Regions from separate parts of the Homo sapiens genome. Here regions 2, 3, 4, 5 and 6 are each linked to region 1. The links are contacts of gene promoters, found by promoter capture Hi-C in blood cells and fetal thymus (Javierre and others, 2016). All regions are on one chromosome and are shown on one strand. The core of a region is centred on a gene start or on the middle of the fragment in contact, and the rest is flanking DNA. Distances in the headings are between cores, read along the strand shown. Region 1 holds the start of HOXB-AS2 (HOXB cluster antisense RNA 2). Region 2 overlaps SKAP1 (src kinase associated phosphoprotein 1). Region 3 overlaps SKAP1 (src kinase associated phosphoprotein 1). Region 4 overlaps SKAP1 (src kinase associated phosphoprotein 1). Region 5 overlaps SKAP1 (src kinase associated phosphoprotein 1). Region 6 overlaps SKAP1 (src kinase associated phosphoprotein 1).

Region 1 (4,305 bases), core at 633-3,132:
TTGGAGGGGGTTGGCTGGCTAGGCCCTGGCTTTATTTAGTCTGATTGTTACAGCAATAATAATGATGACGATGATGATGATAGTAATAATAATAAAACAATAATTTAACTAGATGCCTGGGGCCGAAATTCCTGCCGCTCCCCTTGCAATAAACCCCAAACCATCGCGGGACGGAGGCCAGGCGAGTGTGGAAAGCGAAGGAGCCAGAGACGCGATAGGAAAGAATGGAGACTCCGCCGGTGGTGCAGACAGGGCTGGGAAGGTTTGTGCACCCGGGTAGTCCCTGGCTGCTGCTGCCAGGCTGCCTCAGCCGGTCGCTGCTGCCGCGGCGACTGGCGACAAGCTACCAGCCACCTACGATGGCCCAAGGAGGCGAAGAAGAGCAAGCGATCAGGACACCAAAACGGTTATCGGAGGCAGGTTCCCAGCACACCAGCCGGCCGAGGGCCGAGCCCCGCGGGCGGCAGCAAGTTTTGGGAGCTGGAGGTAACCGAATTAAAAGGCGCCTTAGAAACTCCGCTTCGGGACTTTGCTCAGCAGGGCTCCGGGTTGGAGGGCGCCGAGGCCTGGCGGACGGGACAGTGGGAAGAGAGAAAGGTGCTAAGGGGACCCAAGATCTGGGATCCAGAACAAGAGGGGGTGGGGAACAACTCTACCAAGCCAAACAGATCTATTTCCCTTGCCTCCATGTTGGAAAAATTCAGGTTCCATATGGCTCCTCGGGAGGGAGGGAGGGAGACGGTGGCTGCCGGCTTCCCCCCAGGGTCTCGCTGGAGAAGGGAGATGAGCCCCCCGCAAGAACCCCACCTTGCCAAGCACACCCCAGGGAGAGCCAGGAGAGTAACAATAGCTGGGGAAGCCCCGAGAGAGGGGATAGGCCATCTTCCAGGACTTAAAAAAATTAATGGGAGAAAGAAAAATAACAAGAAAGGAAGACAGAGAAAGGTTGAGACTTTCTTAGCAGCCGCGGAGAAAATTCAGCCCTGGATCTGGCTGCTGAAAGAAAAGAGAGAGAGGAGAAAAGAGGAGAGAAGCAGGAAGAGAGAGGGGAGAGAGAGAGGGAGAGAGAGAGAGAGAGAGAGAGAGAGAGGGAGGGAGGGAGGGAGGGAGGGAGGGAGAGAGAGAGTCGCTGCGTGGAAGGAAGCTTAAAGCTTGTGAACTCTTCTTGAACCGAGATTGGAGTCATATGGGCCATAAATCATTGAGACATACTCTCCGCCATTCACAAACTGATAGCCTATTTCAGTCCAGCTTACCTTAGCCACCGACGAGGGGAGAACAGGCAGACATAATATATATTCACATCGAGCCCCAGAGCGAGCGGCAGGCGACAAATCTCCCCTCCTTGAAGGCAAAGGAAAAAAAGACCACTGTTTAAAGCTGCGTCGCCCCCCGCCCCCCCGCCCCCGCCCCGCAAAGCCACCCCGGCTGGGGAGCCCGAGGGGCAGACCGGCCAGAGGAGCCGCGCGGCGTCCGCTTCAATTCACTCGGCTTAGGAGCAGGGGTGCGCAGGAGGGAGGGGGTGGGGGAGCGGGAAAAAAAATAGAAGACCGAAAGGTGCCGGGCGGCTCAGCTCGCCAGAATCCAGCTCCGGGCTCCAGCAGGGCTAAGCCGCCACAGTGTGGTTGCCCTATAAGACTGGTACGCCCTACTCTCCGTAACAATGGCCTCTGCTTTTGCACAGGGAAAAAAAACCACACAGACACACACACACACTCACTCACACACAAGCTCACACCCCCCCACCTCTCCCCCTTTAGCAAGCTTAGATGCCTGATAAGGAGGGAAGGTGATGGTGGTGATGGGGAAGGGGGGAAATTTTAAAATACCCGCCTCCCCAAAAAAAGAGTAAGAAGAAAAGAAGGAGGGTTTTTTTTTTTTCCTTAAAGAACAGGTAAAAATTTAAATCTAGATTGGAGGGACAGGGAGGAAGAGGTGAGCAAAGGCAAGGAAGGGCGGTGAAGTTCACAGCTCCCCCCATACCCCACTAGTGAACTATTATGCTAATATGAGAAGTAGTATTTGGAGGCTGAGTCAAAGGCAGGCCTGGCCCGGGGGTGAGGGTGCCGGGTGCCCCTCTGCACTCATTCGCAATTGGAACACCAGGACTTTTTTAGAAAGTAGTTCTGGGTCTCCAACCCTCACACTCTGGCTCCCTCCTTCTGAGTCTCCAGCCCCGGCTTCTTCCCTCCACTACACCCTCTCTATTCCTCCCAAATCTCCCTCCAGTCTCCAGGCCCAGTCTCTAACCAAGGGAGAGGGAAAGACCAGAACTTAAAAAAAAAAAAAAAAAAAAAACACCCCTCCCCCTTTTTCTTTTTGAGAACAGACAACAAGCGGTGAGTGATGATTTTAAAAACTCTGAACATCTTGCAGGGGGAGGAGGGTTGAGAAAAGGGTGACAAAAGGAGGACTCTGTGTTTTAGTTTGAGCTCCAGACTGGCTGGCAGTAGACGGGCTGAAAGAACTTCATGGATAAGTTTCTGTTATGATTCTCACCTCCGAATAGGCAGAAGGGGCTAAGAGGTGATAAGGACATTTGTACTTCTAAGAAGAGAAGAACTAGCAGGGTCGCTTAATTTTAAATGCACTGGCAGAAGAGATGGAAGATGGTTATTATTATTATTCAGAACAACCCTGTTTGTTTCTCTCTGCCCTGCAAGATTTATGACTCTTGGCACAAGTGAGGAAGGCCACAAAAGCTAAAGTTTTCTTAGGGTGTGTTTGAGCAGGGCAGGAAAAGGCAAGGAGGAGGCCTGTAGGAGGAAGACAGGAGCCAAAAATGTAGGTGTCTGCAGATTTGGGACAGGGGGTGGGGAATAGTCATTCCGGGAGGAAGGAAAAGACAAAAAGAGCACCAGGACATTTCCCAAAGCAGGAGTGTTTGCAACTCTGCCTAACTGCTGACTCGGAGCTAGGGGATGAAATAGAAAGCTGACTCTTTTCTCTAAAGGCAGCTTGGAAAACTGGTCCTCTTAACTTCATGTAAGGCACTACCCTGTGATTTCCTGGTTAGAATACTTGGCTTTTGCCTTCTCCCATCTGGATGCACCAGAAGAGGGAACGGGACTGGGGACAACAAAGGTGAGAGTTGATTTCCAGCTTTTGTGTTCCCTCCAGCATAGGTTGGAGGTGTCTGGCAAAGCTTCCCTCATTCCCTCTCTCTCCCCACTCACAGGCTCTACTTTGGGATGAGATAGGGAGTGGCCCCTGGCCTCCAGCCCCTACTTCTTCCAGGCAAGGCTAAGTCAGGCCAGGTGATTTGGAGCAGCCGGTTTCCAGGGGCCCTGATAAACTGGGGGTACCTATGGCCTTCCTGCCCTCCAGCAACAGAAGCCACTTGCAGAGCCTCAGAATGTAATGTCCTGAGGACCCCACCTCCCACCTAGAAAGTTGACAGCTGGGGGGAAGCACGGGTTGGGGGACATGGGGATGGAGGGTGGGAGCTATTTTTCTGTGTTTATTAGCTATTATTCTGTGTTTATTAGTATTTTTCTGTGTTTATTAGTAGTATCAAGAAAATAAAACATCCAAGTCAGACCTAGACTTGGGGCTCAAGCCAGCCTGGAACCCCAAAGAGACCTGTTAGGGGTGCCTGAGCATGTGGCTGCAAAAAGTCTGTCCTGAGATCTCTACACTCTGGTTAGAGACCTACAGGGTCAGACCCCATGTAACTTTGAGCTTGGTGGGTCAGGGACTCAGGCCAGGGAGGCTTCCAGAGGCTTAAAGAAACCAGTACCTTTGGGGTTTTTTTTTCTATCACTCCCCCAAATAAAAAAAAAGCCAAGAATGTACCTCAAAACCTCTGCTGTCCTAGCTGTTACTATCATTGGGTTAGAGAAGGTCATTGTAAAACTGAGAGAAGAGGAGAACCTGATCGCTTTTGGGACTGCGCAGCTTTGCCTCTAGGAATAACACGAGAGTCCAGAAGGCACCCAGGCAGCCTCGGGCCGGCTGCAGGAGAAGCGGGCCTGGAGCTGAGCTGGGAGTGGAGGAGTGTTCCAGAGACAACAGCAGACCCCTCCCTTCCCCAAGCCTCCTCAACTCTTTGTGGTCCCTCGGGCTACAGAAGGCAGTGGGGCATAGTGGGGTGGGAGTGAAAAAGAGGACCGAGAAGCAAGAAAATGAACCTGGAGAAAATCTCAGAGGACATATACCCCCAAATGCGGTAGGAGATGGAGTGGGGGCTTCTTAATTCTGGAGTACAGAGCCCATTTGGAATACTTGGGAGGCAATTAGATCCCAGTTTAGTTTCTGTCTTGCCTTTTTTCTTCCATTCTCAGAGGTCTCTGGCGAGCAGGCGGG
Region 2 (4,109 bases), core at 309-2,808, 340 kb before region 1:
ACACCATTGGGCAGACGGAGGCTTTGGGCTTTTTAAAAAGGTATGTAAAAAGGGAAGGGTGAGGATGCAGACGTGTCAGATCAGCCTGTTGTGAGATATGACTCTGGACTCAGGAGAAGACCATTTTCTCATGGCCTCCCCATTCTTTTTGCTAAGGTTCTTAACAGAAATTTTTTTTTTTCCTGCTGTTGGATGATACCAAGTCCAGGCTCGAGACCACACTGGATGGACATGACAGGCAGGGGCCCACAGAGGGAAGCTGCAGTTCAGATAATTCTCCACAGGGAAGCAGTATGAGATCAGGGTTTAGATAGAGGCAGCCCCAGCATCACCAGCTCTCCCTGGTTCTAATTGGAGACAGTTTTCCTCCTTTCCTTTCACTGTGTAAGATAAGCACCAACAGGGCAAGCTCACCTTTCAGGAGAGCCCCTGAGCCTAACTGCAATCCTCCATGTAGCCCTTTACTCCCAGGCCTGTTCCTCCTCACTTAAACAGCTGGCTTTCAGCATATTGCTTTGTTTATTCCATCTCTGACCTATGCATTATCTGAAGGATGCCATAAGGGTTCAACATGCCCACCTTTGTGAAATTACCTCATTCTGAGCTGCTGGGTTCATACCACTGACACAGAGGGGAAACCTGCAGAGGGAAGCTTAGCAACATGTCACACACATGTTGTTCTTGGCAGTATGAATTCCGGTGACTTTTGACATTTCTTAAACAGGAGTCAGTTATATCTTTCCTACTCTGAGGAAAATGGTGCCAGCTACAACTTGATCTTGTTTGAGTTATAGAAGCAATACAACTTTATAGACAAGACTCTGAATAGAGAGCTTACAACTGAGATTCTATCTTGACAACATCCCATTGATAGAGTGTGTGATAACTGCAAAGCCACTATTTATCTTACTTGCTTATGAAATTGAAATAACATATTGCTGATAAGTCTTAAGAACTAAGTACCCTATGTCCACTTTGCACAAGCACCCAATACTGTGAATATACTTTTTTTTTTTTTTTGAGACAGGGTCTCACTCTGTTGCTCAGGCTGGAGTACAGTGGTACAATCTCAGCTCACTGAAACCTCCACCTCCTGGGATCAAGGGATCCTCTCACCTCAGCCTCCAGAGTAGCTGCGACTACAGGTGCACACCATCATGCCAGGCTAATTTTTGTATTTTTTGTAGAGACAGGGTTTCGCCATGTTATCTAGGCTAGTCTCGAACTCCTGAGCTCAAGCGATTCAACCACCTCGGCCTCCCAAAGTGCTGGGATTACAGGTGTGAGCCACTGCACCTGGCCTGAATATTCATAAGAGATAAAATTTTGCCCTCTCTTTTGTCAGACATTCTCTAGAATGCATGTTCTTTCATGGACAGATTGGCAAATATTATAAGTATCAGATTCAAAACTTTCTAAGAAATTTAAATGTTGAATTCTTCTAATACAAGAAGCAAAAATTCCATTTTCAGCGTTTCATGTGTTGAGAGTGAAAAGGGGGAATATAAGAAAGAAGTGAAGTCCAGATTTCCTAAAGTACATCTCAGGTAAGCCTCTCTCTTATCACATATTTTATTTTTTTACCTGAAATATTTCAGAACTTAAATGTTTTTGTCAAATTTGAAAAAGGTGTGTGGTATTGACTTCTTCATACTGATCTCATTTTTATTTTCTTTATAGTCTGTCCAAATCATTTTCAGGCCCCTTAAATCAGTTACCTTTCTTCTAGGGACAATCAATAGAAAGCAAGCAAAAAGAAAAAAGAGTGAGACCTGCCCTCTCAGTGGTCTCCTGGGTAACTTTATCTCCCAGACAGGATGATGCAAAGATGAACAGAAGAGGGGTTTCTGAATAGATTTCCAGTAGGATTGCTGTCAAGATGGGATCAGCTGCAATGGTGCCAGATAAAAACTGCAGGAGACCGAGATGGGTGGATTGCTTGAGCTCAGGTGTTTGAGACCAGCCTGGGCAACAGGGCAAAACCCCATTTCTACAAAATACACAAAAATTAGCCTGGCCTGGTGGTGTGCACCTGTAGTCCCAGCTGCTCGGGAGGCTGAGGTGAGAGGATAGCTTGAGCCAAGAGGTCGAGACTGCAGTGGGCTGAGATTGTGCCACTGCACTCCAGCTTGGGTGACAGAGGAAGATATTGTCTCTAAATAAATAAATAAGAAAAGGTTAGGTAAAGGTAAAAATTATATGGAGTCCACTGCAATATCTCTTATCCAAAAGAAATTTGTTAAAAAAAAATTTTAACAGCTCAAACTACCTTTGAGGCTAATAAAGGCACCAAAATGGATTATCAGACCATGATTTGAGGTTTGAAAAAGGATGCCAGTGCTGACTGACTGGGAAGCTATTGGAAATAAATTAAAAGGCTACATTATGTGAAACAGAGGGTCACAGCATAGGAACATCTTGAAAAGCCATAGGTGCACCAATTACATTTATCAAGATGTTAGTGAAAGCTTTGTGTATGGCTTGTTTTTGCAGGTCATTTGTATGAGATATTGTTGGATAAACTGATTTCATAGAGAAGGAGGAAGGTACTAAGTATCACATTGTGTTAATGTGCCAGCTTGCCACCTTTGGGATCAGATTTGGTGCAGGGCACAAATGAAATGAGTTTGGTGGCTTCAAGCTAGGCTACCACTGATATTTATCCTTAAACAAAATCACAAATCATTTGCTAACAGCTAGGATCAGAGACCTGGGGCTGAGACAGTAAGAATGTTGCAGGTCAGGAGGAAGACTAGCTGGCAGAGTTGGGTTAGGGAAGCAGCCATTTCCTCTAGGTCTCCAGCTTGGCTTCAGCTTATGTTACCAACCAACCCTTCTCATCCATAAACACTGACATTCACACTGATTTTACAACCTCTCTTTGCCTGGCAAACCCAACATCAATATTCCCAACAGCATTTCATGAAACCTCTAGTTATCAAAGTCCTCATCACTTAATCAATTCTAAGAATAATAATTTCATAAACACTATGGAAAAGGAGTCCTATTATTAGACTGTAACTGTCCTTAGCAAAATAATGGAACTTGGTTGTTCTAGTGAATTCTAAATTTAAACACTGCTTGCTCTGTCTCCACTCAACGAAGAGCTTGTGTGCTACTCTGATGAAAATGCAAAGAATTAGAAAACAATGACTGTGTGAATGACATTTACAGAGATCTCATACTGGAAAGGGCACATTTTATTGTGACTTTGTGTCAAAAGTGTAGTTTCATCAGAGCACAGGAGGCAAAAGAAACAGGCAATCAATACTTGGGCCTCTAATATCTGAACTGAGAAAGAAAATCATTATCCTGTTACTTCTATTGTAGGGTGATGCTTGAAATACTGCACCTTGTTTCCATAATAATTCAATATTTTGGGGGTTTCAGATTGTTAAAAAAAAAACCCTCATGGGGTGGCCATGTGAAATCAGAACATGAAGAGTAGAAAGGAATAAACATGCACACATTTTACAGTGGGAATAAAGAGAAAGGCAGATTAAGAAAGAGAAATAGAAAAAATATAACAACCTAATTTCCTATTAGTATTTATCTAATAGTATATGTTTAATTTTGGAATCTCTAGAATTAACCTGAAAGAGTTCTTTGCTTCCAATTTTTTGAACAAAACACACAGATTTCCAATAGAGAAGAGTCCCCTCAATATTAATGAGGTTACTTGGGCAGAATTTTTATCTCTAGATTTATTGAAAATTGTATTCCATTGTTGAGAAACTAAAACCCAGGTGGGAACCATGTGGAATGTGACATTTGATTTTAAAAGTCAGTTGTACTATTCACTTCTCATTGGCAAAAAAACTGGCCACTGAACTTGAACTTCTTGCTGACAAAAGGAGAGGAATTATCATCCACAAACCTTTTTGAAACTCTTATATGTCCAGCCTCAAATAAAGCACCAGTTCTGCCTATTTCTAATATGACTGTTTATTGGTTAGTATTTTCAAAACACTTCAAGGCAATTAAACCCTTCCCCCTCTAGATTTCAGCATCCAGTTTAAAAGTCTCTCTGAATACATATTATGGAGAATAGGGTCATGTCAGTTAATGTTAGTTGCAAAAACAAGTACAGCTGTCCTCAACCTGACTTT
Region 3 (3,926 bases), core at 317-2,816, 380 kb before region 1:
CTGACCTTAGAAAGGATGGGCTCACTAACAGCCTGAAGCATGGTTAACAGTCTGGGATGAATAAGATGTAATTTTATATTCAACAAACCTGTTACATATTCATTTCCAAATGTGCCTGGAATCAAACCAGGCTATCAGAAGTCAGCATCACCAAGGAATTTTATCTTTCACCCTGTGTTCACTTTTCAGATCTGACACATTTCCATTCCCCTCTGAACTTGCAATCTCCGGGCCTCTCAGAGAGGAGACATTTCCATTCTTTCCATTCTCAATCCTCTGATCTCTTAGAGATGAGGCAATTCTATTTTCACTGTACTGATATAAGAAATATTGATAGGAAAAAATAAATGTCTGGTTTGGCTTCCCACCCGCTCTAGGATAAATCTTGGCTGTTCTGGGAACATTAATTAAAGTGAATGTATGGCTGCTTTTAAAGTTTAGGTATTTCCCTACCCAGTCACTTTATTTAGGGCTTTGGGGTTCACACACAGGTACCCTCTTAATTATTGAGTTCAGTAATTTTTGTAGTCTCAGAGAAAGGTGCTTTCTCTAATCAGAAGCCCATAATGTCCTACCCAGTGCCTGTGCATTTAGAAGCTCTTATACCTCCTTTTCGTCGAGTGCCACTCTCATCCTCTTCTAGATCATGCTCTTCATCTGGGGGGATAAATGATCAGTATTAGCAATTAGTGGTTCACAGTCTCATGTTCTTTTTTTTTTTTTTCGAGATAGAGTCTTGCTCTGTTGTCTAGGCTGAAGTGCAGTGGAACGATTTTCGGTTCACTGCAAATTCCACGTCTGGGGTTCAAGGGATTCTCCTGCCTCAGCCCCCTGAGGAGCTAGGAGTACAGGTGCCCACCACCACGCCTAATTTTTGTATTTTTAGTAGAGATGGGGTTTCACTATGTTGGCCAGGTTGGTCTTGAACTCCTGGCATCAGGTGATCCACCCTCCTTGGCCTCCCAAGGTATTGGGATTACAGGTGTGAGCTACTGCGTCCAGCCAGTCAGTCTCATGTTCCTTATACGGAAAGGTCCCCTTTCTCTGAGCTCATCATACTCTCTTCTTTAAGGAAAGTTTAATTACTGTTGTTTTTTTTTTTTTTTTTTTTTTTTTAGGCAGAGTTTCACTCTTTGTTGCCCAGGCTGGAGTGCAATGGTGTGATCTTGACTCACTGCAACCTCCACCTTCCGGGTTCAAGCTATTCTTCCCGAGTAGCTCAGCCTCCCGAGTAGCTGGGATTACAGGCTCACAGCACCATGCCCAGCTAATTTTGTATCTTTAGTGAAGATGGGGTTTCTCCATGTTGATCAGGCTGGTCTCAAACTCCTGACCTCAGATGATCCGCCCACCTTGGCCTCCCAAAGTGCTGGGATTACAGGCGTGAGCCACCGTGCCTGGCAATTACTGTGTTCTTAAAAAAAATATTAATTTGTCACCTTCAAACTGGCCCTCTCCTTCCCTTCCCTTTCATTTATTCATAAGCATGTTGAAGTGCTCATTACATGCAAGACATTGCACTAGGAACTGGGGACAAGCAATAAACAAGACTGTCAGAGTTCCTGCCCTTGTGGAGCTTCCAGTCCATTGGATTATTTAGATGTCTATCACCAGAATCCTAATCCTTTTCCTCAAACTCCATTTCTCCTTCCCTCTGGAATTCTCTTCAAAATTATTATCTCTATGCAAGCATTCTCTCTAGTTTTAAGCATTCTAGAGTTAGGATGTTAGAGTGTGTGTGTGTGTGTGTGTGTGTGTGTGAACAACCCTCTGTGATTGGCTGGGTGCGGTGGCTCATGCCTGTAATCCCAACACTTTGGGAGGCCGAGGCGGGCAGATCATGAGGTCAGGAGTTGGAGACCAGCCTGGTCAACATGGTGAAACCCCGTCTGTGCTAAAAATACAAAAATCAGCTGGGCCTGTGGCGGGCGCCTGTAACCCCGGCTACTCAGGAGGCTGAGGCAAGAGAATTGCTTGAATCCAGGAGGCAGAGGTTGCAGTGAGCCGAGATTGTGCCACTGCACTCCAGCCTGGGTGACAGAGCAAGACTCTGTCCTGGGGAAAAAACAAAAAACAAAAAACCCTCTTTGATTAATTAGTCCTTAATCCTTAATGTATCCATCTTTGTTCAGCTGTAATGGAGGCTGGTCATGTACATAATTTTATGTTCCTAGTACTTGGGGCTTGTAGTTATCTTTTTACTGTTTTTATTCAGCATGTCTTGTTCATTAGAGTATAAGCTCCTGAGGGTAGCTGGAATGGTCTTTTAATTAATTGCCGTAGATTCACAATGGGTTCTAACTCAATGCCAGTGTCTAACTCCAGTCAAATGTTTATACGGTCAAAGTCATAACATAATTGGCCTAAGTTTCTTACTCCCATTAACCGGTTTCATCTCGTCACATTACCCGATAAAATAGGAATTGGACCCTTATAATGTAAATATGTGTACCAGAATCATATTTAGCTATTTTATACATGGGGCAAAGTGAAGAAAAATACACTCGTTATTCTTTTCACTACCACCATGCTCTTTTCCCACTCTCTCACTCACACATATATACACACATATGCACAGTAGATAGGGTATAGTAAGCAATGTTTTGAGGGCTGAATACTCAGCTCCTCCTGGCCACATTTACTTTCCTTTCTCCTGAGTCTTAATGACATTTGCTTGTCTTGCTTCTCCATAGTTTTGCCACTAAATGAAACTTTGACATTTCTCTTTCTTTTTTTAAATGTAATGTTTATAGGGCAATATGAGTTCCGGTATGCCAAACTGGGGAAGTAAGCTCCAAGCTCATAGGTAAGAAGGAGCAGCATAAAAATATATTAGAATACTATAAAGCATTAAAGGAGTAATTGATTTCAAGTAAGAAAGAGACTGATATGGCCAGGTGTGGTGGCTCATGCCTGTAATCCCAGCACTCTGGTAGGCTGAGATGGGAGGATCACTTGAGCCCAAGAGTTAGACACCAGCATAGACAACAGAGCAAGACCCTGTCTCTATAAAAAATAAAAATAAAAATTAGCTAGGCACAGTGATGCACACCTGTAGTTCCAGCTACTTGGGAGACTGAAGCAAGAGGATTGCCTGAGCCCAAGAGTTTGAGGCTGCAGTAAGCCATGATTGCGCTACTGCAGTCCAGCCTGGGCCTGGGCAACAGAGCGAGACCTTGTCTCTAAAAAAAAAAAAGGACGGATACTCTGGGAAATAAAATATATATATATATGCCCTACAATATAGTATGGGAAAAGGAGCACTTTGACTCAACAGTTCTTATAGCCATGTATGATCTAGCAGCAGAGAATGTTCTACTTGACACCTGTAGTGCTCCCTCAACCCTACCACGAGGAATAAAACAACCTAAGCTAATGGAGGAGTGAAATCAAATATAGGAAACAGATCATGCTGAAATAAACCACATTAAACATTCTTTGCACATTGTCTTCTCGTTACTCGTCCACTTCCTTCCTTTCTCAGCTATGATGCATTTCTTTTTTGACATGGGACTAATTTTAGGATTGGAAACATTAGAGGAAAAGTTGGTACAACCTCAGTTTTAGAGATACCCAATAATTTGGACAGAGAGCAGCTCTTTTGTTGATATCAAACAACTCCATCACAAAGACCAATAATTTGCTGTGCTTAGGCACTTTTGCAGAGGTTTATTCTACCTCTGCTGTCTGTGCGCAGCTGTCTCTTCCTCCCAATTCTAATCAATGTAAATTGGGTCAGATCTCCACTGTGAATTACAAATTGGATCCGAAGTTGGAGGGTCACAGTGCTGCTACTCCACCTCCTTCCCACCACCATTAGATGGGAAGCTTCACCAAAGATCTTTTCTAAATAAATCAGACTTTATTGTAAAACTCGGCCACTGACGAGACATAACCTCATTAGCATTGATTTTAAAATAAATTAT
Region 4 (3,739 bases), core at 1,096-3,595, 400 kb before region 1:
CCTCCTTACCAAAAGGATATTTTTATTTGCTTTCTAACACACTCAATTTCCTAAATTTGTTTTGAATCCAATTATTTTGGGTGGTTTAAAGTACTGCACTCTTGTTGGACGGAAATTAGCAGCGATTGAAATTAACTTTTTATGTGACCTGTGAAAGGGGCTAAAATAATTACAAGTGTGTAGAAGAAACTCTCCAAAAGACCCTTGCTGTAGGATCAGGCTGTGATCCGATGATGCCATTATCCAAATATCTTTATACAGCAAATACAAGGGCTTTTTTCTTTAAAAAGGTGATTGCAATTATTGTTTCTGTTTTGTAATTCTGAGGATTATCTTGTAGAGGATAAGTGATGACAAAAACTTGTCATTATAGACAGGATAAATAAGCAGAAAGAATGAAAATAATAACACAGCATTGTTTACCATTTAAAAATGGTGAGCATCAAAAAGCAGGAGAGGAGGAACAGGAAAGGTGTAGAGACCCCCTTGGTTACAATGTTTCAAAAGGCATTGCTTTGTAGGGATCAGCCAACACCCTTTCTAGGTGTTTATAGATGCTCTGTTTGTGTAAAGTACAGTGAAAAATAACAATTTGAATGTTTCGATTATCTTTCCCAGTCCGTTCCATTTTCATTATTTATTTCCTATAAATCGGGACCTTGCTGAACATAATTCTGCAGACAAGGAGGTGGATGGGACAGCCAATGTGAACAAGGAGATAGATGGTGGGTGCGTATAAGATAGATGCTATGCGCTTATGAAAAAGAGCAGTATGTCTGCATGTGAACATCCACAAAGTAGAGCGAGCAAGCGTGTACACGACAACGGGTATTTATAGGTGGAAAAAGGTGCAAGGAAGATTATGTGGGAACAGGCACAGAGAGTCTGAAACGGTTTGCTCTTTTCCCTACCCTCCTGGAATCCACGTCCAAGTTCTGCCTAAGATGTCCCACACTTGCTGTGGCTCCTGTGAACCTCGCAAGCCTTTCCATGACAACAGACGGGGATTTCACAGCCAGAAGACTTAGGAGGTCAACAGTTGAAAAGCAAGATTTAGAGAGATCTTTAAACAATCACACTAACCTCCCTCCCCTTCCAAAGACAGAAGGAGGAAAACATTTAAAGACGCAGCAGGAAAAAAAAAAAAAAAAAGAGCCTTTCTAAAAATGCAAGTTTAAAATGTTCATGCTTTTGTATCAGCCTAGTTGCACCTTAGAATCTGCCATTTCATAAATAAAATACCGATGGCATAGAGTATAATTTGGTGACAGCTACCCCAGGACATATCTAGATGCACTTCTGTTATTTTAATTAAATACTGCATTATGGTTTGTGACAACTACATAGCTATAGCGTAAATGAATTCAGAATTAAAGTGTTACTTAGGCATCCAGTAATTTTTGTTTCATTCCTTAGTTTTACAAAGCAAATAGCTATAAAATCAAGATGTTTGTTCATTTACAGATGGAGCAGGATTGTCGTCGCTGTTTTTTTCCTCCTTAATCCTCATCCACAAAAAGAAGACACAGTTCAGAGTCTGGCTCCCAACACTCTTAGCTTATGAGCCACATCACAAAGAAAAACACATCCTCTTGACTATAATGTGAAATGCTGAATATTAATTGCTGGTATTATGCCTATCTTTCTAGCTGGGTTCTGTCTTTTAACAATTATTCGGATGGGCTACAGCCTTGCACTGCCAGGAGATTCTTCTCCTTTGTTTAATAGTTAGAAACCAATTTTATTAAAAAACGGTAAAGTTCACAATGCTCCATGTAAGTTCTTAGTATTTGGAACTCTCCCCAAATACAGAATATTATCAGGAACAGAGAAACTGCAGACTCTCTTTGCTAAATATGATGAACATTTCTGCATTTAAAAGAAAAAAATATTTTTCATTTTAGCAATATTAATGTTTCCTTAATGAAACTGGAGAGGGTGTTACAATTTGATATACTTGGTTAGTTTCATTGTCACTTCACTAGCAAATCATGAGAAAGGTTCAGAATATTCTCATCTATCAGGTACAGATTTTCACTCAAAATTAATATGTAGAGTAAAAGGATTTTTGTTCAAATCTGAGGATTTAACTGTATCTTTAACGTTTCATATGTCAAGATGAAAGTTTTTAAATAACTAGTTTTCTGAAACCATTTCTATTATTTCTAATTTGAGAATCAATATGATCTTTTTATTAGCCTTAAATACCATACATCTGGGAATGTCTGCAAATTTAAGCTTTTCTGTGTTCTAATCAATTACCTTCAGTCTTGCATAACTAATCCTATAATCTCCATAGAAGTTACTGCCCTGTATGTTAGCAATGAGGTTATACTTTGTTTCAATATTTTGCTAGTTTGGTTGGAGAGCTGAATCACGCAATACCAAGAAATGGTGGCAGAAGAGGTTTGGGGAGGCTGAGTTTCTTTTGAGAAAATAATTATACTGAAACAAAGCTTTTGTGACTCCTTTTAAATAGGGCATCTCACCAAAATGTCATCCAGCCTCTTTGGCAGATTAGTGGGGAGTTTATTACTAAATCTCTGTCTAATAAATGTGCAGTTGACTCTGGAGGAGCTGCTTGTTATAATACTGGCGGTGGGAAATGGAGGGAATGTCACAGTTAAAGACACAAATTTTCCCCATAATATATTCAAATGGAAACCTCTGAATCCAATACTACATGGGCATATCTAATAAATTCACAATATTTCAGTTTCCGCAGCCTTCACCGGTTAGTTTTAAAGATTTATGTGGTAAAAAATTACTCAGTGATGAATATGGTTTATTCTGTGCAGTATTGGAGGTATAAGGAATTAAACTACCATCTTTAACAGTGAATTTATTATTACCTCTGTCAAAAGACGAAGACGTTAACAGCATTTGTTATAAATTCACTGCAAAATAAATGGCTGGAATTTTTTACACTGGAGTTTGTAAAGCATCGGGCAATTCTGAGCATTAACCTAACCCGGCCGTGGCTTATATGGTTCTAGGTAAACGTTTCTGTCTGGGCTTCGTAGTTAATTATCTGGTCTGGAATTTTCCCCAACTGAAAACTGTGTGCACATGGACACACACACACACACACACACACATACATACACAGAGAGAGAGAAAAGTGAAAGGTCTTGTCCAGGACAACTGTTTAGGAATAAATAGATTAGACTATTTATAGATAGATAGAATAAAATAAAATGCCAATTTTATTCTCTTTTTAAAAAATGGGTTTTAGAATAAATGGTCAGGGTTTGCAGGATGGGTTGATGAGCAACTGGGCCTCTTGTTAGCAGGTTTACATGCATGCATATGCACACACACATAAACACCCTCTCCCTTTTGTCCTCTCTTGGAATGGGTGTCCCCTCATTTATAAAAATTACCTGGAAGGAATGAGGCTGCCAGGGTTTGTTCTAGACGATTGGTTCCTGTCTGGGGGAAAGGAATGGCCTCTACTGAATTTGACCGGTATATGACCGTTGCCTTCCAGCTGACCCCAAATCCCATTCCCATCCTCCTAACTCCGTTGCCTCCCATAGGGGTTATTAATGAGAGAAAACACCATCATCATCATCTTCGTCATCACAGCACAGTGTTGACCTGCTTGTTAACATGAAATGGGGTGGTGGGGACAGCTTCTGCTTCTCTTGCATACCATCATAAATAAGAAAAGATACTTTGCCATAGGATCCCCTCACCCACCCCTTTGATTAGGTCAGAGGTGCATAATAGCTCTTTG
Region 5 (3,952 bases), core at 113-2,612, 320 kb before region 1:
CTGAGTAAATTTTACAAAAGAAATGCTCCATCTCCAATAGGAACTCTGTGGCAGTTGTGGCTAATGGGTACCACAATCTGGGGAGGTCACCAGTTCTGGATCTCACATTTGAAAAAACTCAATTTCAGCTATGGAAAATTAAATGGGGCTACTTTGCAATGGGTTTCAATGTTCAGTTGAGATTAAGGTGAAGGAGGGTGTTAAAAGGAAATATTGATGATTCTTTACATCAATAGAAAAGAGAAAGGATGGCAGTGCTAGAATGTGTGGTTTTGTTGAACTGTGTTGTCCCTGTTTGGCAAAGGTTTGGTGATGGAACTAGAAAGAAGGGGACAAATTCTGACTTCTAGTAAAAACAAGAATAGTCTGTAATTTAAACAGATAAAATATAATACTATAAAATTTTACTGTACTAATTGTATAAAATATGGGTAAAATAAGATTACTGGCCAAGTGTGGTGGCTTACACCTGTAATCCCAGCACTTTGGGAGGTCGAGGTGGGTGGATCACGAGGTCAGGAGTTCGAGACCAGCCTGGCCAACATGGTGAAACCCCATCTGTACTAAAAACATACAAAAAATTAGCCGGGCATAGTGGCTCGCACCTGTAATCCCAACTACTAGGGAGGCTGAGGCAGAAGAATTGCTTGAACCCAGGAGGCAGAGGTTGCAATGGGCTGAGATTGTGCCATTGTACTCCAGCCTGGGTGACAGAGCAAGACTGTGTCTTGAGAAAAAAAAAATGTTTACTTAGAGTGGCAGAAATACAAGCCAACAGCTTCTCTCTCTGCATCCCCCATGCTTATATGACAAGAGTTCCAAGTTGTTTGAGTGTTTGGTTTTTTTGGCAGTGAAAGGTTTAAGGGCATTTATCTCTATAACTAGCAATTTAATAAGTACATGACTTCTTACTCAAGTGCATTTAGATAATTTTCTAAGCTTTCATAACAGCTTTATTTATTTATGCTTTAATGCCTTTCCTCTTAAGAGCTCAAGATGCTGGTTATTTAACATTTTATATTCAGATATGAGGATTAAAAAAAGGCACTGGGTGCCATGCTGCTGTCTCCAATGATAGCTCCACTAAAAATAACACAATTAACTTGATGTCAGCCCTCAGCTTGTTCTTAAATATAGGTTTCTTAAAAATATCCAGACTACTTTAATTAGAGTCACAGAATATTTTAATTATTCCTAAAAGACTGAGTATACTCCATTGACTACAATAAAGACATGAGATAGAAAGCAGTTCTCTAGGAACTTATATATGCTAATGATTATGTCACATTAATGGGAATATGGGCAGTTGTTTAGGATGAAATTGGTACAGGGCTAGACATGGACACCTGTGAAGAAAACTGAGGCCATGTGTCATCTGGCATGAGGTAAATGGCATCTGAGCCCCAGATATCATCAGAAATGCAAAATTCTGAAATTCAAGGTAATATGTTGTTCAGTTCAACTTAATTTTAATCAGATGCAATCCAACCCTGGAAACCTTTATTCAGCATCTGTTATATGTCAGGTAATGTTCTGAGATCTGTGGGGGTACCAAAATAAATAAGAAATACATTCTATTTTCAAGGCACTTTTTTTTTTCTGGTAGGAAAGACAGTCAAATAAATAACCACAGAATGTGATGAGTAAAAAGCAAAATTACAAATGTATGCATTAATACAAAATGAATAAAGGAGATTTATGGTGGCATGATATGGCAGAACAAGGATGAGTTTTGAAATCATGCAGACCCTGGTTTAAATTCTGGATATTTCAATTGCTTGCCATAAAGCTTTTAGCCTTGGTTTTATGTTTTGAGAATGGAGATCTCAATGTATTTTAAAATGCTTTGTGAAGATAAAGCAAGGCAAGATTTGTAAAAGTATCGAACTAGTTCCTAGCATGAGAATCCTAATAGGAGCTCAAGAAATGTTACGTTTTTCCTTGTGTGTATATGTGAAGGCTTCACAGAGGAGACAAAGACTGAGCTGGGTTTTGAAGGATGAATAGGAGTTCTCTAAGACTAATGGAACAATATTTGGAAAAAGAGAGATGTGGAAAAGTGGGGAATATCTGGTATTGTTGATATATAAAAGGGGAATGAGCAGCAAAGGGACCTGAAGATAGGGAGGTGGCAGAGATCTACAAAGAAAGTGAGAAATGAACATAAATGTGTATACTTAGGGAACACCACAGAATGTGTGACCATGGAGCATTCAGCATCACCATGGTTGAAGGTCCATAAAGTAACAAATTGTCCTAACTTGCTAGACAACTATCAAGTTTGAACAGCCTCAAAAGTTAGCTTTCACTTTTTTTTTTTTAGTGAGTTCATCAAAGTTGCTCACAGACTCCATTTAGTAGAAAACTGCAGAACAAGATCAACTACAACAAAACTCTGAATGCAGACACAGTCATTTCATTCTGTGCTAAGGTAACTGATAAGTGGACAATAGAAGAATATCCAAGATGCTGCTGGAAATTGTGTTAAAGTAGGACAAGCATGAGAGAGGTTTAATGCCATGAAATCTTTCAGTAGTGCAGCAAAGCTGAGGATGGCAAAGAATGTTGGTGTTCACCTCCCAACTCCAACTCACAGTGCTGAGAACTTAGCAAGTGTATGATGCTATTCCACTCCCAGAATAACATCACCCAGAGGCAAGTCTTGCTTGTACTTGGACCAGTAATCATAGCTCTTTCTCCTGCTTTACTCATCAGGAGCCTATAGTCAAATATACCAGAGAATACTAGAAGATCTGTCTTTCCTACAAGTCTGGTATGTAGCTCAAGGGACCACACTTGCTTTTCTTTGAGAAATGATCCATTGATTTAAGAGGAAAGCCAGCCCAGGATTTTGGGTGGAGTGGCAGACACAATTTGAAGGATAAAATTCATGAGGAACCATCTGAAAAGATGTTGGGCCTTTTAAAAATAGTTACACTGGATGTGATGATTGTAACATTTCAAAGTCAAGGGAGAAAAATACATTCATACATAGAGTTAACAAGGTTAAGCAAAGCTCTTTAAAGTTGAAAATGCTTTCCGATATTCCTTCACTTATTCAATAAACATACACTGAGCACCTTCAAAGTTTTAGGTACTGGAGAGACAAAGATGAGTAAAATAACTGCTGTGAAGGAACTCAGTCTAGAGGAGAAGGGGACAGAATGTAAACAAATAACTATAATGCAATTTATCATTTGTATTAAGGTTTCTACGAGATTCTTTGGGAGCACAGAGAGGGTAATTGTTTCCAAATCTTGAATATTACATTACTATTATTGGAATATACACTATGTAGAGGTTTATATACCACAGTAGGTTCTTGATAAATATTCCTTGTATTAATGAATGAAAAGTAATCAATCCCCAAATATAAATTTCTCTATCATATTAGGTTACTTAATCACTTAATAAGATTACATAAACAAATTTAAAGTACTTGGTGTAAATCTGGCAATTTATAAAATGCTGTGAGACTATGGAAGACTGCTTGCCAATGGAGGAGGAGGAACGAATAGGATGTTAACTGAGACTGCGAAGTTTGAGCTAAATCTTGAAGGAAGAGAAGGAATTCACCAGACTTACAAGTAAGAAACAGGATTCCAGACAAAGAGAAAAGTATCTGCTAAGGTGTGTAAGAGTGTGTTTTACACTTGATAAGTCATTTAGTATATCTGTAGACATAGGATGCTTGTAAGGAGAGTCACAGGAAATGAGGTCAGGAAGTCAAAATAGTAATATCTACTCTATTGTCAAGTAGTTACATTTCTTACTATGTGCCAGGCACTGGGCCAAGCAATTCTTATGCATTGTATCATGTAATCTTCAAAACAACAGTAAGAGGTAGGTACTACCATTATCTCTATTTTATGAATAAGGGAACTTGAATTTGGTGAGGATAAGTGACTCACTCATGATCATACAACTATTAGGTCATGAAGTTGGATTTGAA
Region 6 (3,956 bases), core at 42-2,541, 360 kb before region 1:
GTTTTTTGAACATTTCCTACAATAACATTTATTCAATGGTGGCTATGAGCTGGCACTTTGCTCAGTGCTTTTCCTACTTTTTGTTTTAAAATAACATCTACGACAATTTAAAATGCAATCAAAATTACATTTTGCTTTAAAGCTGTTTCAAGCTTAGTTATAAAAAGGTAGATCAGAAGAGCCTCTTTTTCTGTTTTTAAGTGTGTCTATGTGCCTGATTTTTTATCCAATTGGTCCTTATTGTTAACCTCCTTGTTCATGGACTACTTTTATTTGTGTGTTTCACAGTTAGCAAACTATGTGGTTGCCATAAATCCTTTTAATCAATCTCAGGGTGCACGCATGAGATGAACAGCAGCAAAGGAAAGTTCATTTTTCTAGGGTTCTTTCATTTCTCCTACCCCTCTGAAAACACCCTCCAAGGAAACAGTAGCAGATTCTACTGAGGGTGAGGCATTGAGTGGGGTGAGGACCAGTTACAGAAGAGAAGGCTCTCTGAAGTGCTGTCAAAAAATTGCTCCTGGGGAGGCCAGGTGTGGTGGCACAAACCTGTAGTCCCAGCTACTTGGAGGCTGAGGTAGGAGGATCTCTTGAGTCCAGGAGTTCAAGGCTGCAGTGAGCTGTGATTGAACCACTTCACAACAGCCTGGGGACAGAGCGAGACTCTGCCTCTTAAAAAAAAAAATTGCTCCTGGAGGCCTAAAAATTAAATGAAAGACATAGGGAGATGAGGAAAACACGATCCCATAAGCTGGGAGTTTCCATCTCTTCTTTCCACAGGTTTTTTTTTTCTTTTCTTTTTAAAGGTCTTGTTAAACTTAGAGACACAGCTCCTTGTCAAAGATGCCAAGAGTCTGAATCATAAAAGACATGTTAAACGTTCTATTAGAATTCAAACCTCCTTTTTTTAATGCAAATTTAAATGCCATTTTATGGAACATCTATAATTATGAAAATGGGAAGACATTGCCTCGTGTGCAGGGAGAGTCTGTGAGTATGAATATTACATTAATGTGCCCACACCAGCTCACTGATCCTGCTGGCAGGAGCATAAAAAATGCCTGAGTGAAACTTTTATTTAGATGTTAAGACTCCAGGCCCCAGCGGGGTGACAGAGACAGCCCCTGTGAGTTGCCATCAGAGAGAGAGCTTGAATTGAATTACCCAGGGGGGAGGAAGTAGTGATGAGCACTGCTTCGCTTATTTAATTTCATTTACTTTCAGTACATTATCAGCATGAGGTTTTTCTCTCCCCACCAACTGAAACCCAAGAATGCCACCACTAAGGAAACAAAGACATAATACAGCAGAGATGTAACTCTAAGTCACTAATTCTAGGAGACAAGGGATAGCACCATCACCACCTTCTCTCCCCAAGAGTCAAACTCAGTTTGCTAAAATTGGGTACCAAAGGAGCTGCTGAATTTTTTCTCTTGGTCATTCACTAACAAGATTCTGAAAAGGAATAGAGCTGGAAACAGCTTTTTATATGGTGTGTTTTTGTGTATAGTCAGTAAGATGTGTTATGTTGCTTTCTTTCTTTCTTTTTTTTGAGACAGAGTCTCACTCTTGTCGCCCAGGCTGGAGTGTAATGGTGTGATCTCAGCTCACTGCAACCTCCACCTCCCGGGTTCAAGCGATTCTCCTGCTCCAGCTTCCCAAGTAGCTGGGATTACAGGCATGCACCACCATGCCTGAATAGTTTTTTGTATTTTTAGTAGAGACGGGGTTTCTCCATGTTGGTCAGGCTGGTCTTGAACTCCTGACCCCAGGGGATCCAGCCGCCTCGGCCTCCCAAAGTGCTGGGATTACAGGCATGAGCCACCGCACCCGGTCTATGTTGCTTTCTTATTCATTAGACAGAATCTGTATTGAGGAATTCTCTTGCCTGGTTCCCCTTATGGGCAGTGGGAAAAAATGGGATTATAGGCTCAGTTTAGAATGTCTACGGAAAAAAAATTAGGAAATGAGGTCAGATCAGTCTCTAGTCTACTAACTGTCTTCTGTGTACAAGGTACTGTGTGGTGAGTTCAATAACAGAGTTGTTCTCAATGTAGTTGGCTCTGAGCTCAATCTCATTAGCTCCATGATCTATCTGACAAATCCAAATAACCAAGGTGGGAATCCACAGTGGCATGCAAGGTACCTCCTCTTTCAGTGTCAGCGCAGGGTCCTACTGATCAAGAACTAGTGATCCTGAGGATGAACAGTGTTAGCCATGCCATGGGGTGATGAGGCAGGAATCTTGTATGCCTGGATCCACACCTACTGGTAAACGAACAGATCTGCAGAGAACTACTTAATGCATAATAGAAAGTATGTAAAATATGCTTTAAAGGACGGTTATAAAAATAGGAAGAAGTTGCAAACAATTGTATAAGTTGCTATTTTAAGGCAAACAATTTATATTTAAGTATACAATTAAAAAAAGAAGCTTTTTATTCATTACCTGAGAAAAGATATCACCACCGTCATGAAAAAATAAAAATGATTTTGATTTATTGAGAATAAATGGCCCTCTTGGCTAAGTCTAAAGGTGTATTACATTATATCAGCACAAAACAGAATTACATTAGTGTCATAATCTCTCCCTACCACTACACTTAACTAAACCTCTCAGAACAGCCCGTATAAAGAAAAGATTCACTTAGCTGAAGGATATGGGGCCACAAAGATAAGATCAACAGAGAAGTATGTTACCCAGAAGTGATGGCCACCCAACTTTCATGGCAGATGAAGATAAAAGAAATTCTCAGATATCTTTCTCTTCATCTAGTTTCCTTTAAACCCTTGTATCCCACCCACATCAAAAAAAGCAATAAAAAACGACAGAATAGGATTCCATCTCTCAATGCTAAACATGACTCTTTAGTCAGCTATGCACAGCAACAACAATGGGGACCCTTTGGAGTGTGATACATTTCCATAAAGCAGTCAATAAAAAAGACACGAGAGCTTATGTGAGTCACGGCCTATTTAACCAGCTGCGTTCTAGCCCACTGAGAAAAGAGAATTGGAGAAATCAGTTGGCAACACCAGAGCACAAGGCTAATAGCACAGGAGGCCACACAATTTCCACGCAAAAAGGCTGCAGCCCCTGCAGAACAAACCAGGTGCCCACTAACTTTCATTATAGGCAGCTGGCTTGGTCTCTTGCTAAATCATCCTGAAAGGAAAATAAATAGTTTTTTAAAAAACATCTTTTGTTCAAATCGTCCCCCTGTTAAGTTATGGACTTCTCCCATCCTCCCTCTTCCTTTTAATTCAAGTTCTTTTCAACTGTTTAAAAGAGGGACCTAACCAACTTGAGCCTAGAGACTAATAGCTAACAGGGGTGAATTTCAGACAGGGTGAAGTTTAGCAGGATCCTTCATTAAAGTACTCATGTAAAAAACCTGGGGATTGGGTGTATGAGATTGGAGAAAATTTAACATCTGAAGGCTGGGAATGGTCAAATTCCACCTGCAATTCCAATGCAGTCACAGATGGCTGGTGTGTGTGCATCTGCAGACATAAACACAAACACACGCTTTAAAATGCCTCAAATGTACCAAGGTGAGGAGGGTATTGCAGATAGGTTGGGGAGGGGGTAGTTTTCTCTTGTCTGGTGATTGTGGATTTCAAATCTGTTCATGAACCTCTCTTTTGTGCATTTGATTTCTGTGGCCTTCTTTAATATGTTCATTACTGCTTTTCCTTAGCTTCTTACTTTTCTGGGTTACTTTTTTGCCTTCTTCTCAATTTTCAGGAACCAGTCAATAAATGATAGTTTGTAGTGTCTGGCAGGAAGTGTCATCTTCCGATGCTAACAAGGAAGTTGGTTTCAATGACTATTCCTTGATTAGTCCCTTGAACAGGCATATATAATTCTTTAACTTCCGTGGTTCCATTTGATATCCACCTGAGTTTACACTTATACCACACATTTTTCTTGCATTGTGCTTCACTTATAAAGG

What was found. Contacts are between HindIII fragments. The CHiCAGO score rates a contact against its expected background, and 5 or more counts as called.
Region 2: a fragment that was not itself captured here is called in contact with the fragment with the promoter of HOXB-AS2 in region 1 in 1 of 17 cell types (M1 macrophages); the score reaches 5.6 in M1 macrophages.
Region 3: a fragment that was not itself captured here is called in contact with the fragment with the promoter of HOXB-AS2 in region 1 in 1 of 17 cell types (M1 macrophages); the score reaches 5.4 in M1 macrophages.
Region 4: a fragment that was not itself captured here is called in contact with the fragment with the promoter of HOXB-AS2 in region 1 in 2 of 17 cell types (megakaryocytes and M1 macrophages); the score reaches 5.6 in megakaryocytes.
Region 5: a fragment that was not itself captured here is called in contact with the fragment with the promoter of HOXB-AS2 in region 1 in 1 of 17 cell types (total CD8 T cells); the score reaches 5.4 in total CD8 T cells.
Region 6: a fragment that was not itself captured here is called in contact with the fragment with the promoter of HOXB-AS2 in region 1 in 2 of 17 cell types (M1 macrophages and endothelial precursors); the score reaches 5.3 in M1 macrophages.

The regions. Positions count from the first base shown.
Region 1 is chr17:48,554,275-48,558,579 of GRCh38, forward strand. HOXB-AS2 (HOXB cluster antisense RNA 2) reads left to right here and starts at 1,883. Exons shown (of 2, transcript NR_046610.1): 1 at 1,883-3,084. It overlaps HOXB3 (homeobox B3), which reads right to left. Exons shown (of 5, transcript NM_001384749.1): 3 at 1,257-1,344. The HindIII fragment of the contact is 1,381 bases long and covers 1,763-3,143 here.
Region 2 is chr17:48,215,490-48,219,598 of GRCh38, forward strand. All of the region lies in intron 4 of SKAP1 (src kinase associated phosphoprotein 1), which reads right to left. Among named protein-coding and RNA genes, the nearest start is that of MIR1203, 61 kb to the left of the region's middle. RefSeq lists an enhancer at 3,848-4,109. The HindIII fragment of the contact is 1,816 bases long and covers 651-2,466 here.
Region 3 is chr17:48,170,003-48,173,928 of GRCh38, forward strand. SKAP1 (src kinase associated phosphoprotein 1) reads right to left here. Exons shown (of 13, transcript NM_003726.4): 10 at 607-657. Among named protein-coding and RNA genes, the nearest start is that of MIR1203, 15 kb to the left of the region's middle. The HindIII fragment of the contact is 4,519 bases long and covers 1-3,826 here.
Region 4 is chr17:48,149,952-48,153,690 of GRCh38, forward strand. The region is part of intron 11 of SKAP1 (src kinase associated phosphoprotein 1); the gene reads right to left. LOC124904018 (a long non-coding RNA gene) reads left to right here. Exons shown (of 2, transcript XR_007065827.1): 2 at 619-2,925. Among named protein-coding and RNA genes, the nearest start is that of MIR1203, 4.7 kb to the right of the region's middle. RefSeq lists an enhancer at 1-380. The HindIII fragment of the contact is 218 bases long and covers 2,237-2,454 here.
Region 5 is chr17:48,233,126-48,237,077 of GRCh38, forward strand. The region is part of intron 4 of SKAP1 (src kinase associated phosphoprotein 1); the gene reads right to left. Among named protein-coding and RNA genes, the nearest start is that of SKAP1-AS2, 59 kb to the right of the region's middle. The HindIII fragment of the contact is 850 bases long and covers 938-1,787 here.
Region 6 is chr17:48,191,507-48,195,462 of GRCh38, forward strand. All of the region lies in intron 4 of SKAP1 (src kinase associated phosphoprotein 1), which reads right to left. Among named protein-coding and RNA genes, the nearest start is that of MIR1203, 37 kb to the left of the region's middle. RefSeq lists an enhancer at 663-1,280. The HindIII fragment of the contact is 2,282 bases long and covers 151-2,432 here.